2 separate regions of the Homo sapiens genome follow, and region 1 is linked to region 2. Evidence: promoter capture Hi-C in human tissues and cell types (Jung and others, 2019). All regions are on one chromosome and are shown on one strand. Each heading gives the region's core, a stretch centred on a gene start or on the middle of the fragment in contact. The rest is flanking DNA. Distances are from core to core; before and after follow the strand shown. Region 1 has its middle 10 kb from the start of OR1J1. Region 2 holds the start of OR1Q1 (olfactory receptor family 1 subfamily Q member 1).

Region 1 (6,682 bases), core at 1-2,500, 120 kb after region 2:
CCATTCCCACCTTTTATTTGCATTGCTCCTAGTCATGTCACCGAAATCCTCATTATTACTAAATCCAATGAATGGTTTCAGCACTTAACCTTGGCTCTACATTTTTATATTCTCCTTCTCCATCTCTGGTTGTTATTTGATGTCTTTTGGGGGCTTTATTTCTCTGCTACTATCTTAATTGTCAATGTTCCCTGTGGTCTGTCCTCAGCAACTATTCCCTTCCCTTTCCTTGCTTTTCTCCCTTCTCCTTTCCTCTTCTCTCCTCCCTTTCTCTCCCCTCCTTCTTCTTTTTCCTCAGCTTTTACTAACCTCATTTGTTTTCAGGCAATCTCATCCTCCTCTATGTTGACAGTCCATGAATTTCTATCTCTATCCAAAATATATCCACCTGCCTACTAAATTTGTCTCATGGATGACCTATAGGTACCTCATACTCTATGCAATACAACTTCTCAAATCTTTTTCTTCTATATTGCCTTCAGTGAATAGCACAACCATACACTCAGCTGTCCAAGCCATAAATTTAGAGAGGTTTTCAACTCCTTTGTTCTCCTTATTTTCTACATTCTTATCAAAATCAACTCACATCAAAATTACTATATCCATTAGATTCTGACTACGGAGACTTAAATCAATATAGTTCTAACATCATGGTCACTCTCTTATACACACTTTCATAATCTCTTACCTAAATGACTGTCATCTTCTCCTAATGAGTCTCTTTGCTTCTGGTCTTGCATTCCACTACCCCATGCCTGCTCTGCCAACATGTCCTCTGCCCACTGCAAACACATGCTCATTATCCACTCCTGAACTATACCAACTGTGTTTAGTATGATTGTCAATCTGCTGATCAAGTCCTTCCATGGCTCTTTCTTTCCTTTTGAGTAATATGCAAATTCTTCAATATGGCTTCTAAGGTCCTGCATGATTTATTCCTTCTAGTTTCTCTGGACTCATCCTGAACCTCTTCCCCTGTTCAAGTGTACATTTTAGCCACTCTAATTTTTCTGACAATTGTTTCCTAAATTTGCCATCCTTTCTCTTCTGTAGGTCTTTTCCTATTCCTCTGTTTCTCTCCCTTTCACTGCTCTGCCTCTATGTTGTTGACATCACCTTCTACTTGTTTTGATTTTCTTGAGTTTCTGCTTACTTGTAACTTTCTACAAGCCTACTTGCTGTTCTGTGTGGGAAACGCATGAGGGGAGAAGAAAAGACACACACAAAATACCTTTAAGGGTAAACAAGCTTTATCCCACGTAAATGGCAATGCAGATATAACAAGCCAATGATATAATAAGCAAATTGATATAATAAGCAAGTTGCAATGGGAAGGGGATAAAGGAAAAGAGATATATATATATTTACACTCACCACCCCACATTGGATGGGGAGATGCATTTGGGGATGGCCATTAATTCCATTCACCATCTGGGATAATATTCCCTCCCCAGTAATCTAGATGCTTACAAACATCACTGGTTATGAATGTGCCAGACTCCCTGATGATGGTACCCTATCACAGTATTCTCCCCTGCCACCAGTACAATCCTGCTTCAGCAACAAATTAAAATATTAAGCTTACATGTAGAAAAAGCTCTTAATGATAGTAGCACTGGACTTATGTTATCAGATGAATTTGCTCAGCCGTGCACTGTTGTGTTGCAAAATCGAGAGGCATTAGATATGCTTACCACAGCCCAAGGAGGGGTTTGTGCCTTACTGCATACTAAATGTTATGTGTCTATCCCTGACAATTCTCACAATATTACTCTCCTTGCAAAGCTATCGTAGGTGTGGTTTTTATTAATTGCGTTTTTAATTCTCCTGTGCTTACCATGTATCTGTAATCTATCAACTGTGCCTTCCCCATGTATCTGTAAGGGTATTTTCCTACAACTGAGTATCAAATTGAGGCCCAATGTGGAGAAAAAGTTAAATATTAAATTTGAACTCAATTGAACGTGGACACAAACAATGGTCACCAAGTCCGGGAACAGGTTGTGTGAGCCCCTTGAGGCATTCATCCAGCACTGTTTCGGAGAAATCTCTATTTCAATCTATTCCTATACATTGGTTATTGAAAAACAATAGATAATTGCAAAAACAAGTTGATCTTTTTGTGTTCCTTGAGCCCAGTCGCAAAGGGCCCTCGTCACTGGGCCTCATGCAAAACAACTTCTTACAAAAAGAGCTAGGGTCCCAGACCCTAGCACCGAAGCTTCATGAAACCTCTCCTTGTCTGTGCACGGACAAGTGGCCGACTCTGGAGCCCAGGCTGTTTCTTCCCAGTCTGGTGGTGAATCCTCCACAGTCTGGTGAGTTTTGTATCTGACTCTGGAACCCAGGCTGTTGCTTTCCAGTCTGGTGGTGAATCCTCCGTAGTCTGGCGAGTGTAAATATATATATATATATTTATATATGGAATAAAGGAATGGTGTGTGTGTCTTTTCTTCTCCCCTCATAAGTTTCCCACACAGAACACTTGCTTGATGCCTTTAATTTGGGTTTGATGCCCCCCTTTGTGTTCCCACAGCACTCGGCTCTTACCTTCATTACAGTGTCTGATGTGGACGGTTTTGTCGATCTCATTCAATGGATTGGGAACTCTTTGGGGACAGAAAATTGTGTTTTCCCATGGACACAGAGATGGGAACATCACACACCAGGGCCTGTCAATGGGTGGGGGGGTTAGGGGAGGGATAGCATTAAGAGAAATACCTAATGTAGACGATGGGTAATGGGTGCAGCAAACCACCATGACATGTGTATACCTATATAACAAACCTGCACATTCTGCACATGTACCCCAGAACTTAGAGTATAATAAATTTTAAAAAAAGAAACTTGTGTTTTCTTTACTTACAGTGCCTCACAAAATTCTTGCCACATCATATTTATACAATATTCTTCTGAATGAGTAAATGAATGCACAAATTATTCAAAGAAATAATGAAAAAAGCAATCTCCTCCACTTAATTCTCCGTCTCTTTTATATTTTTGCCAACCTGAATGTAGCAGGTTTCTGAAGATTCTCACACTCATTTTTATGGTCAAAGAATACTTTTTGAGCCCTGAGTCTGTTCCAACTATTATTATGTGTCATCACTAACCAAAAATAAATCCTGCATGTATTCAGGTGTTTCCCATGAGGAAAATAAATCTCTAGTCCTTGAAAAGTGTTCTTAATCCTCAGGGACTAGTAACACCTCTCCTTCCAGTTCCAAATTGAATGTGGGAAGGAGGAAGTCTGTATAGGCCAGGAGCGGTGGCTCACGCCTATAATCCAGGCACTCTGGGAGGCTGAGGCGGGCAGATCACCTGAGCTCAGGAGTTTGAGACCACCCTGGGCAACATGGCAAAACCCCATTTCTACTAAAAATACAAAAAATTAGCTGGACGTGGTGGCACACACCTGTAATTCCAGTTACTTGGGAGGCTGAGGCATGAGAATCACTTGAACCCAGGAGGCAGAGGTTGCAGTGAGCTGAGATCATGCCACTGCACTCCAGCCTGGGCAACAGAACTGTCTCAAAACAAAAATAAAACAAAAACAAAACAAACAAACAAAAAACCCAAAAGAATTATTTAAAATATAGAGCTCACTAATATAAGGGAGGCAACATGGAAGAAAGCCTAGAATGAAACCAGGCTTTAGGTTTGAAGTTAATGTGTTTATGTTTGAATACTCATTTAACCATTTACTTTTGAGACATTGTCAAACTCAATAAATGGGAAAAATACTATCTACATCAAATATTATTGTGATGCTTAAAAAATCTTATAGATGTGAAAGTTCTTTATAAATAAAAAAAATCTGTACATAATAAAAGTTCTTATTTATATTCCCATAGGAGTTGACTGTCCTTGGTGTCCGGCAAAGGCACATTTCAACTGGGAATATTAAGGGAAATACAGTAATTAGCCCCTAACTGTGTCTCACCACAGACTTCTGGCACCAGTCCCCTGGGTTCCCATCCAGGCAGGTAAAGGGAGATACTCTTGCTGTAGCCTTGTGGCTGGTGAAAAACAAAGAATGTGCCTCTTCTCCACTTCAGGGTTGAGCTCATGACTTTTCTCACTGTTCCAGCTCTAAGACTTTTGGAGAGAAAATGAATGATTGGTTCATACCAAGGAGCTGACAATATTTGAATTTATCACTGAACTAGGTAAGACCAATGCTTACAGACTCCATTAAGCAGTTTGTGTGTGTGTGTGTGTGTGTGTGTGTGTGTGTTAATCATCTCCTCCAAAATCTTGCAGATGAGTACACATGTGCCAGGTGGTTTATATAATTTTTGTATTACATCAAATAATTTAGGGTGGACATCATTATTATTATTCTCTGGTGTTTGTACTTTCCTCTTTAGGAAAATGTTCTCTCACAGTTTTGCTGAATATCTGGCCTGCATCCCAGCTATGAGCACATTCTTCAAGGTTTAAAAAATAATAATAATCTGCATTTTTATAAATAGTTATAAACATACCTACATGCAATTTCCTATTATGTCCTTTAAAAATTATATCATAAGCTTTTAATGAATTTATTTTATTGACTACATATTCTTTTCAATAATGTGTACCATAGTTGCCTTAACCTTTCCCTTACTGATGGAATATAGGTATCAACAACAACACTGGCCAGGGTCTTATTTGTTTTTTTCCTGGGACCCCGAGAAATTTACTTTCTGGGAAGCTGCCTTCGTAAATCCAGTAACTGATTTCCTGGTTTCTCTATTCTCTTCTGATCATCTGATTAAAGACTGAAGCAATACATCTATGCAAAGGCTTTTAAGAAATTACAGATTCCACCTCTTTAATGACAGGTGCATATCCAGATGTCTTTTCCATCAATGCTCTGCTGGAGGCAATACGACATGATGATTAGCAGCATGAGTTTGAAATCAGACAAACACAGGATTGAATGACCTCCCCATCATTTTCATGATGTAGAATTTTAGGCAAATTATTTATACTCTGTAAACCCTACTTTCCAATTGGTTAGATGAGAATAATGCCATTTTGTGATCCTGTTAGGCTGATATGATATAAATTGCATCACAGCAGCTGGCCTATATTATTATTCACACAATAAATATGTGATTAATGAATGATTGCTATTCTAATTTTTATTATCAGTATTACTGACATCACCATCATGGCACAAATCTTGAAACTATAGATTTTTATTCATCCTTAAACTCTCCAATTTACTTCATGAAATTCTTGAGTGCTCTCAGGCAGCAAATATTGTCCTATTTGAAGATATATTTAATAAGGGCTTTTAATAGAGTGGGAAGAATATAGTCTTTGAAGCCAGATGGACCTGCTATCAATTCCCAGGCTCACAATATACTAGTGCTATAATACTGGGCAAGTTTCATCACTGAATCCCAGTGTTCTCCTCTCCAAAGTGAGGATCAGAATGCCTACATTGGCTGGGCACAGCGGTTCATGCCTGTAATCCCAGCACTTTGGGAGGCCAAGGTGGGTGGATCACTTGATGTCAGGAGTTCAAGGCCAGCCTGGCAATATGGTGAAACCCCCTCTCAACTAAAAATACAAAAATTGGCCTGGCATGCTAGTGGGCACCTGTAATCCCAGCTACTCGGGAGGCTGAGACAGGAGAATTGCTTGAACCCGGGAGGCAGAGGTTGCAGTGAGTCGAGATGGTTCCACTGCACTGCACTCCAGCCTGAGTGACAGAGACTCCACCTCAAAAAAAAAAAAAAAAACTTATGTGGGAACAGGTGAATATTATTTGAAAATCACCTGGTACAAATTAAGCACTACATCAGATTTCTTAACAATTCAACTATTTCTACAGCCCAGCCTTACAGCAGTCATTGCAGCCAAACTGGAAAGATAGTAAATTTGTTCTCAGTGTCTGCAGCCTCTGCTTTCATTCTGCCTGTAATCTCCAACCTTGTCTCCTCACTTTGTCTGAGAAAGCCAGTGCATTTGTTCTGCCATCCAAACCTGGATCCCCAAATAAATTGCTCTCAGCCATTCTATCTGAGTTAGAGTGTTGGCCATAGGGCTCTCTCTCCCAGGAAAACTTAACTTGAAACCTAATCTCTAGTTGGAAACTTAAAGCCCTTTTTCTCTTGCTAAAAGAATTTCAGATATCAGCAAGCTATTGAGGGTGATGTCTTGGGTAGGGACAGGAAAGGCTCAATGTTGTTCTGAAAATCACATCACACTACATGTTCACTTAGAAAACAAAACTAACCCAGATAATCTGAAGAATGGTGAGAAACTTAGAGACATGGTTCTATCACTCATTTTCTACAATCTATGAAGATGTGGGGGTCAAGTTTGGGTCCAAAGTGCTGGAGTCTGTGCGGAAAGCCTTTAGCCTCTAAGACTAAGTAACAAACTAGCTTTCACGTGTTTCTGGGATTAATAGTAAAGCATTCATAAATATTCTAATTCTGCTGAAATTCTAATTCAATATTACATGGAGCCAGTTGTCTACTTTGCTGTAGTTACTGAAAGTTACCATTTGGCATGAATTTTCACCTACTAGATTAAGTTGGCTCATGTTTACACTCTTCCTGTCACTCGGTGGGGAAGAGGAACCAGGACTGGTAGGACATGGTTGCCTTTTGAATCCAGTTGAGAAAGTGATGGTGGGGCTTCTGCACACTGTTTTTTGTGTTTTTGAAACATGGTCTCACTC
Region 2 (6,714 bases), core at 1,218-3,717:
GAGATTTTATTACCACCAGCCCTGCCTTACAAGAGCTCCTCAAGGAAGCACTAAACATGGAAGGTAACAACCGGTACCAGCCACTGAAAAAACATGCCAAATTGTAAAGACCATCGATGCATGAAGAAACTGCATCAATTAATGTTCAACATAACCAGCTAACATGTAGTTGTTTACTTCTGGGTTCTCTATTCTGTTCCATTGCTCTATGTGTCTGTTTTGGTACCAGTACCATGCTGTTTTGGTTGCTGTAGCCTTGTAGTATAGTTTGAATTTGGATAGTGTGATGCTTCTGGCTTTGTCCCTGTTGCTTAGGATTGCTTTGGCTATTTGGGCTCTTTTTTGGTTCCATGTGGATTTTAGAATAGTTTTTTCTAATTATGTGACAAATGTCATTGGTAGTTTCATAGGAATAGCATTGAATCTATAAATTTCTTTGGGCAGTATGGTCTTTTAATAATATTGAAGAATCAACATTTTAACAGACTCTTGATGCTTGAACCTGTTCTTCATGCCCAGTATTGATTGGTCAGAAGACAAATCAATTTTCACCCACTATTAGACCAGTTCCACATATCAACTACAGAAGAGATCAGGAACATGCTGAGGCAAAATGAGTTTGACTTATCCCTGAGTAGTGCAGGTAAAGCAGGTTAAGAAAAATGCAAATTGGTAAGCATGACAGTGCTTCATTCTGGAGCATATATAACTTCTGACTCCAAATAGTAGACATTATCATTATGTTCCTCTTCTTATATTGGAGTAGTTACCCCATTTCACCTGACTTCTATAAACTTATAGAAAATAAAAGCACCAATATTGCTCTCCTAGTTTTCCTGGCAGCTAGGGGATGTGTTGGTGACCAAATTCTTGACCAGTCAGATGCACCACCTTATTTTGAATCTAGACATAGTAGTGAAAAGAATAAGAAGGGGACAGTTCTTTCTGGAAGTGGTAATAACCAGTTTATAGACCTCCAAGAACTATGCCCAGTGACTACTGCTGGTAGTATAGGAGGAGGTACAAGCTGCAGTGAATAGAGTTTGGTGGCTACAGTAGTGTCCTCATTAGACTAGTTCTGGGATATGATTTTCACTGCAGTTCTGATGATATGACCTTTATTATTCTTGTCCATTTTTCTTGAGTCTAGTTCCCTAGCCTTGGAAATGCATGAGCTCCACATATCTTTTCAAGAAACTCATTTCCTCCATGCATAAGCCAGAATCAGTTTCTATTGCCTACATCTAAGAACTCTGAGAGTTACAACCCTAGTGTTTAATTGCAGAGAACCCTGTTAATTATAGTTAAAGAAACGCTAGTGTTTTACACTAAGTACATGGTGGTTCCTTTTTGTTTTATGTACTTTGGATTTAATAGATTTCTCTGGGCAATATCCAGTGAGAAAACACATGATATATAGCTAATTTAGATATTTCTGGAAAGTTCTAAAGAAAGCAGATCTGTGAGGCACAACATTATTTCTCCAGAACCATAGGTAAACCTCTGAACTGTGTTTGGGGTTTTATCTAAAGAAAAAAGTCTGCATTCTGCTCATCCATTTCATGAAGCCTCCCTTGACATCCCCATTCCTCAGGCTGTAGATGAAGGGGTTCAGCATGGGAGTCACCACTGTGTACACGACTGTTATAATGCGACCCTTGGTCACTGAATAGCTGGAAAGGGGCCGGAAGTAGACCCAACTGAGGGTGCCATAGAATATGGCCACCACAGTGAGGTGGGAGCCGCAGGTAGAAAAGGTTTTCCACCTGCCCTTGGCTGAGGGGATCCGGAGGACCACCAGGATGATGCAGGCATAGGAGGCAGTAATGAAGGCCAGAGCTCCACTGATTACAACAGCACCTTCTGTGTGAATCATAAGGGTGTTGAGGTAGGTGCTGGTGCAGGAGATCTTCATCAGAGCGTAGAGGTCACAGAAGAAGTGGGGGATTCTGTTATCTGCACAGAAGATTAGTTGGCCTATGAGAAAGGTATGCAGCATGGCATGAAGGTGGGAGAGAGCATGGCACATGACCACCATCTTCACACACAGCATTCTAGTCAGGATCATAGTGTAGTGGAAAGGGTGGCAGATGGCAATGTACCTGTCATAGGCCATCACAGCCAGGATGAAGTTTTCCATGACGGCGAAGCAAATGAAGAAATAAGTTTGGGCTAAACAGCCTGTGTAGGAAATTACCTTTGTAGGGGAGAAAATAATCTGCAGCATCTTGGGGACCGTGGTGGAGGTGAAGCAGATGTCTGTCAAGGCCAAGTTACTGAGGAAGATGTACATGGGGATGTGGAGGCGTGGAGCAGAGAGAATCAGTGTGATGATGGCCAAGTTGCCAGAAATATTGATTGCGTACATGAGTGAGAAAACAAGGAAGAGTGGGATTTGCTCTTCTGGGTGGGTGGAAATGCCCAAGAGAACAAAATGGGACACACTGGTCCAGTTGCTGTTGTCCATCTGTTGCCATAAGAACAAAAAGAATTAGTTCTATAGACTTGGACATATAGTCACTGTTGTGCCCCAGTGTAAACTACACACTGTGCTGATAAAGGGATTAAGTGCTTATGACTTTTCCAAGATAATATGGATTTTTCATTAACATCATCATTATTAAAAGTACTGCTAAAAACCACAATTACTTTTGCACCAACCTAATAGCCCCATAGCTAACATTTACAGAACATTTACCTTAAACCAGGGACTTTTCTGTGTTATCACATTTAAATCAATAACTCTATGAGGCTATTATTACTACTACTACTATTATTATTATTATTATTTCACTTTTACAAATTTGAAAACAGGCACGGAAAGTTTAAGTTCATAAAGAGCAAAATATCAATTTAAGTCACATTTATCTGGTGCCAAAGATTATACTATTAGCCACTATATGACATGACTCCCCAGATTAAAACCAAGCCATCTTATTCATGGTAATAAGACCTATTGATGAGCTATATAACCAAGGAATCTGCCTGCTGAAAGGGAGGTCAGAGGTCATTTGGTTCAGTAATTTTCACTTTGGGGGACACATACTCTTGCTGATCTCCAGAGACTTCTCAGTACATAGAATAATGGTTTTAGGAAAATAATTGTCTAGATCCTCAATTTCCACAGTTCTCTTTTCTAAACTCTTCTTATCTTTAAGATGTCACCTAGTGCATAATCTTGTTTCCCATGTAACAAATGAAAACTAAATGGTAATATAATTGATGTTGATTTTGACTTACTTTAGTAATAAGTAATACTCATTTCTAGATATATGAACTAAAAAAGTCCTACTAGATGCCTTTAATTAAAATCTTTTTAGGAATAACAATTATTTTCAAAATTTGTGATATATTACCATATGAAATTACTATTTTTGTAGATCAAAATAGGTGAATGTTGGCAACTTAATATAATTGAAGCTAACAATTACATAGTTTTGGTCAGTTGTTTAAACTGACCAAATTGGTGCCAATTAGTAATAATTGTGATAATAACTCAATGTAGATGATTTTTCATAATTATTTTAACACAAAATTTTGTGGTCATAAGAAATAAAAAAACTTTTATTTTTTATTGTGAAAAGTAATATAGGTGATTATAAGAGACTTTCCAGCATAAACATTTATTACAACAGGATAAAATTTGTATAGGAGAAGAATGGAAATACATGTTTAAATGGAGAAGGAATAATGTAAAACATACACATTTTCAGGATGACTTTGTTCTTGCATTTTAAAAATGAATGATGTGATTATCAAATCACTCTGTGTTTAGATGTCATTGGGTACATTTTAAGAAATAATGTAAAGTTTTGTTTTAAAAGTACAATACTCCATGTATTATATACTTATAGCTATTTAAACATCAAATGGATAATTTTATATGCCTCTTTTTAAAAGCGCATGGGTCTTAATAAAAAAGCATATATAAGCAAAAACTATAAATCATTGAAAACTATAAACTCATTGATTGAGAACTTGACCCAACTTCTCAATCAATGTTCAGTCTCTTTTTATAGGATCCTGGGGAAATAATCATCCTTTCTCCTTTTGAACGCTTTTAGTGGCAGGAAGCTCTAGTTGTCAGATTTTTTTTTTTTTTTTTTTTTTTACAGGAGAAGCTAAAGTATAATTGCCTCTCATTTCTGTCTCGCAGAATGAGGTTGGTCCTCTGGGATCTCACACAACAAGCCTGTTATTCTTCACCATGACAGCCCTTGAGAAATCTAAACGTGCAGCACTGTGCAGTGGTTAAAAGCCCAGCCTTCATTTTCTCATCTGTCAAATGGGGATTTTTATAGTTTATTACACTTAAAGTTGTTACAAGGATTAGATGAAAGTACCTGGTTTCTGTAAAGTATTCAGTAAATGTTGGTGATTTTTTCTTTCATTTTTTTTCAGTCTTGTTAAACATAGCGTCTCCAGGTTTTTCTGCCATCCAGGTCTCTACTGTGACACTGTTCACTTTTCCTCTGTCCTTAAAATGTCATTTCCAGAAACTAAGCAATATTCTATGAGTCTGGTTTTTCATCACAGGCTAGTCACAATGATTTCATCTGGTCGTAAATAATAACCAAATAATCTTTTTGAGGTGGAGATCAGAGTTGGCAGTCCACAAATAAAATGTGTTTATGGCTATAAGAATTCTCAGACTGTGCAATTTGGTTGTTGGGAGGAAAAAGTGCCAGCAGTTAAGAACTGTTCCTATGTAAGGCACTTTACACATATCTCAGATAGTCCTTGTAGCAATCTCAGTATGTGTCTAGCTGTGTGTCCTAGTCACAATCACTTATTATCCTTATTTTATATATGAGAATACCAAGGCTTAGGGAAGTGAAGTGATTCACTCAGTATAACTTAGTAGTAAGTGGTAACGACTTCACACTTACGTCTGGATACCTCTAGTGCTCATACGTGCCTGATGGCCCATTTCACTTATTTAGCTTCTTCTTCACAGAATAGAATTTATCATTCCTGGTCTGTCTGCTTTCATGCCTCAAATTAAAGGATGCCACCATGGTACAGCTCAAGAGAACAAACAGTAGGTTTTTCAACTATAAAAGTGTGGCAATTCCTAATATGATATTGAATATCCTGAATTGATTTCAATGTGGCATGATGATGAATGTGAAATAAAAGTGCACATTTACTGAGCACTTACTATATACCAGGAATTATTCTAAGAGCTGTATATATGTTTTTCATGTGATCACAGCAATTCCATGACATAGGTATCAGCTCCACTTTATAAATGAGGAAATTGGGGCTTGAAAGGGTCCTGTGACATGCATAAGGTCACAGATTTAATAAGTGGTAGTAATGAAATTTGGATTCAGCTCTGCCTGACCTCAAAAGCCTATGCTCTCAACCATGGGGCTATGCTACTTCTTAAGTTTTCTCTCGCTATTCTAGTTTCTATTTTCCTCTTTGTTTCCTTCTTTTCTACTGTGCTATCCTGTGCATTGGACAATGATAAGTACCTATCATTTTTTTGTTTAATTCTCATTATAAAACTAAGCATAGATATTATTATTCCCATACTGAGATCATGAAAACCGAGGACCAGGGAGACTAATTAACTTTCTCAAGGTCAAATAGAGTAGAGTTGGATCCAGCTTGATCTTCAATCTGTCTAACTCGGAAGCAATGCTCTTCCTCTCTGACCTCACCGATTTAACACCCACGTTCCATTCCTTCCCTGTGCTGGTCTTCTCTTATCAATGTGGCATTGTAATTGGATTCTTCAAATGAAGATTCATATCTCTAGCCTGCAGGGCTGGGCATCAGGTGGCCCTGAGTTTATGGTTTGGGAAACGTAAGATTAATCCTTCTTTCCAGATCTTGGGAAAGGCCTATGAGTGGACTGAGCTCTACTTGACAGTCGGTAGCCTGTGCCCAGATGCTACCTGGGCAATATCTATGTAGCTCTTGTGACACAGCTACCCAAGAGGCTAGAGAGAGTCCCAGAAGTGGATGGTGGGGAGCTGCCTAGAAACTTAAGAGTCCTCCTTGTCTTCCTCATGGCTGGCAGAAATCATCTTGCCTGACCTATAGTGCAGCGTATGAGCCCCTTATGGCAGAGGGGAGGAGCGTGGTGTGGACAAGGAGGCAGGAGACTAAGAATAGGGAACTCCTAGAGGAGAACATTACTTTATAAAAGGATGTGGATTTTAAAATAAAACAGTAATGTGGTGTGCAGGAATGGAGCTTGACCCAGGAAATTTCCATTTTCTATCTGGGCTTTGGTCCCGGGTCTGCCATGAAAATGTTCTGAAACATTGGGAAAACCACTTCCTTTCTTGGAAGCCTCAGTTTCTTCCTCTGGGGAATGGGAAGAATAATAACTGCTTTCGATGTAGAAGCTTGATATAAAATATCAGAAGAGACTACAGACATGAAGGCCCTTTAAATGTCCCATGAAACAGTGAGAAGTTGTTTATTTTAAATTTCTGTGGGAACCTGGGTTTCCTATCCTTTGCTATCCCAGAATAGCTTTCTATAACTGCCAGCAATCGGATCCGTAAACTGCCCTTTGTAAATAGAGGAGACACTGGGATAACATGACTTAATAAAGTTTCTGAGTTTCTCTGATTCTTAATCCCCAGAAATGGGAAGAAAATCTGGGTCAGTTGTTAAGAGAAGACACACAGTGAAAAACCATTCCAGCGGATGATTTCTGGGCCACCTAACTCTGATTATTCTTAATACCTCCCT

The links. The method cuts DNA at HindIII sites, captures the fragments that hold promoters and counts their contacts. A contact is called where the count stands out against the background at its distance.
Region 1: a contact is called between a fragment that was not itself captured here and the fragment with the promoter of OR1Q1 in region 2, in 2 of the 25 tissues and cell types used here (H1 embryonic stem cells and stomach).

Annotation. Positions count from the first base shown.
Region 1 is chr9:122,485,014-122,491,695 of GRCh38, reverse strand. It overlaps a transcript of OR1J2 not described here. Among named protein-coding and RNA genes, the nearest start is that of OR1J1, 10 kb to the right of the region's middle. The HindIII fragment of the contact is 4,254 bases long and covers 1-3,377 here.
Region 2 is chr9:122,610,491-122,617,204 of GRCh38, reverse strand. OR1Q1 (olfactory receptor family 1 subfamily Q member 1) reads right to left here and starts at 2,467. Exons shown (of 1, transcript NM_012364.1): 1 at 1,523-2,467. The coding sequence starts at 2,467. The coding sequence ends at 1,523. The region is part of intron 1 of LOC124902265 (a long non-coding RNA gene); the gene reads right to left. The HindIII fragment of the contact is 8,234 bases long and covers 1-6,714 here.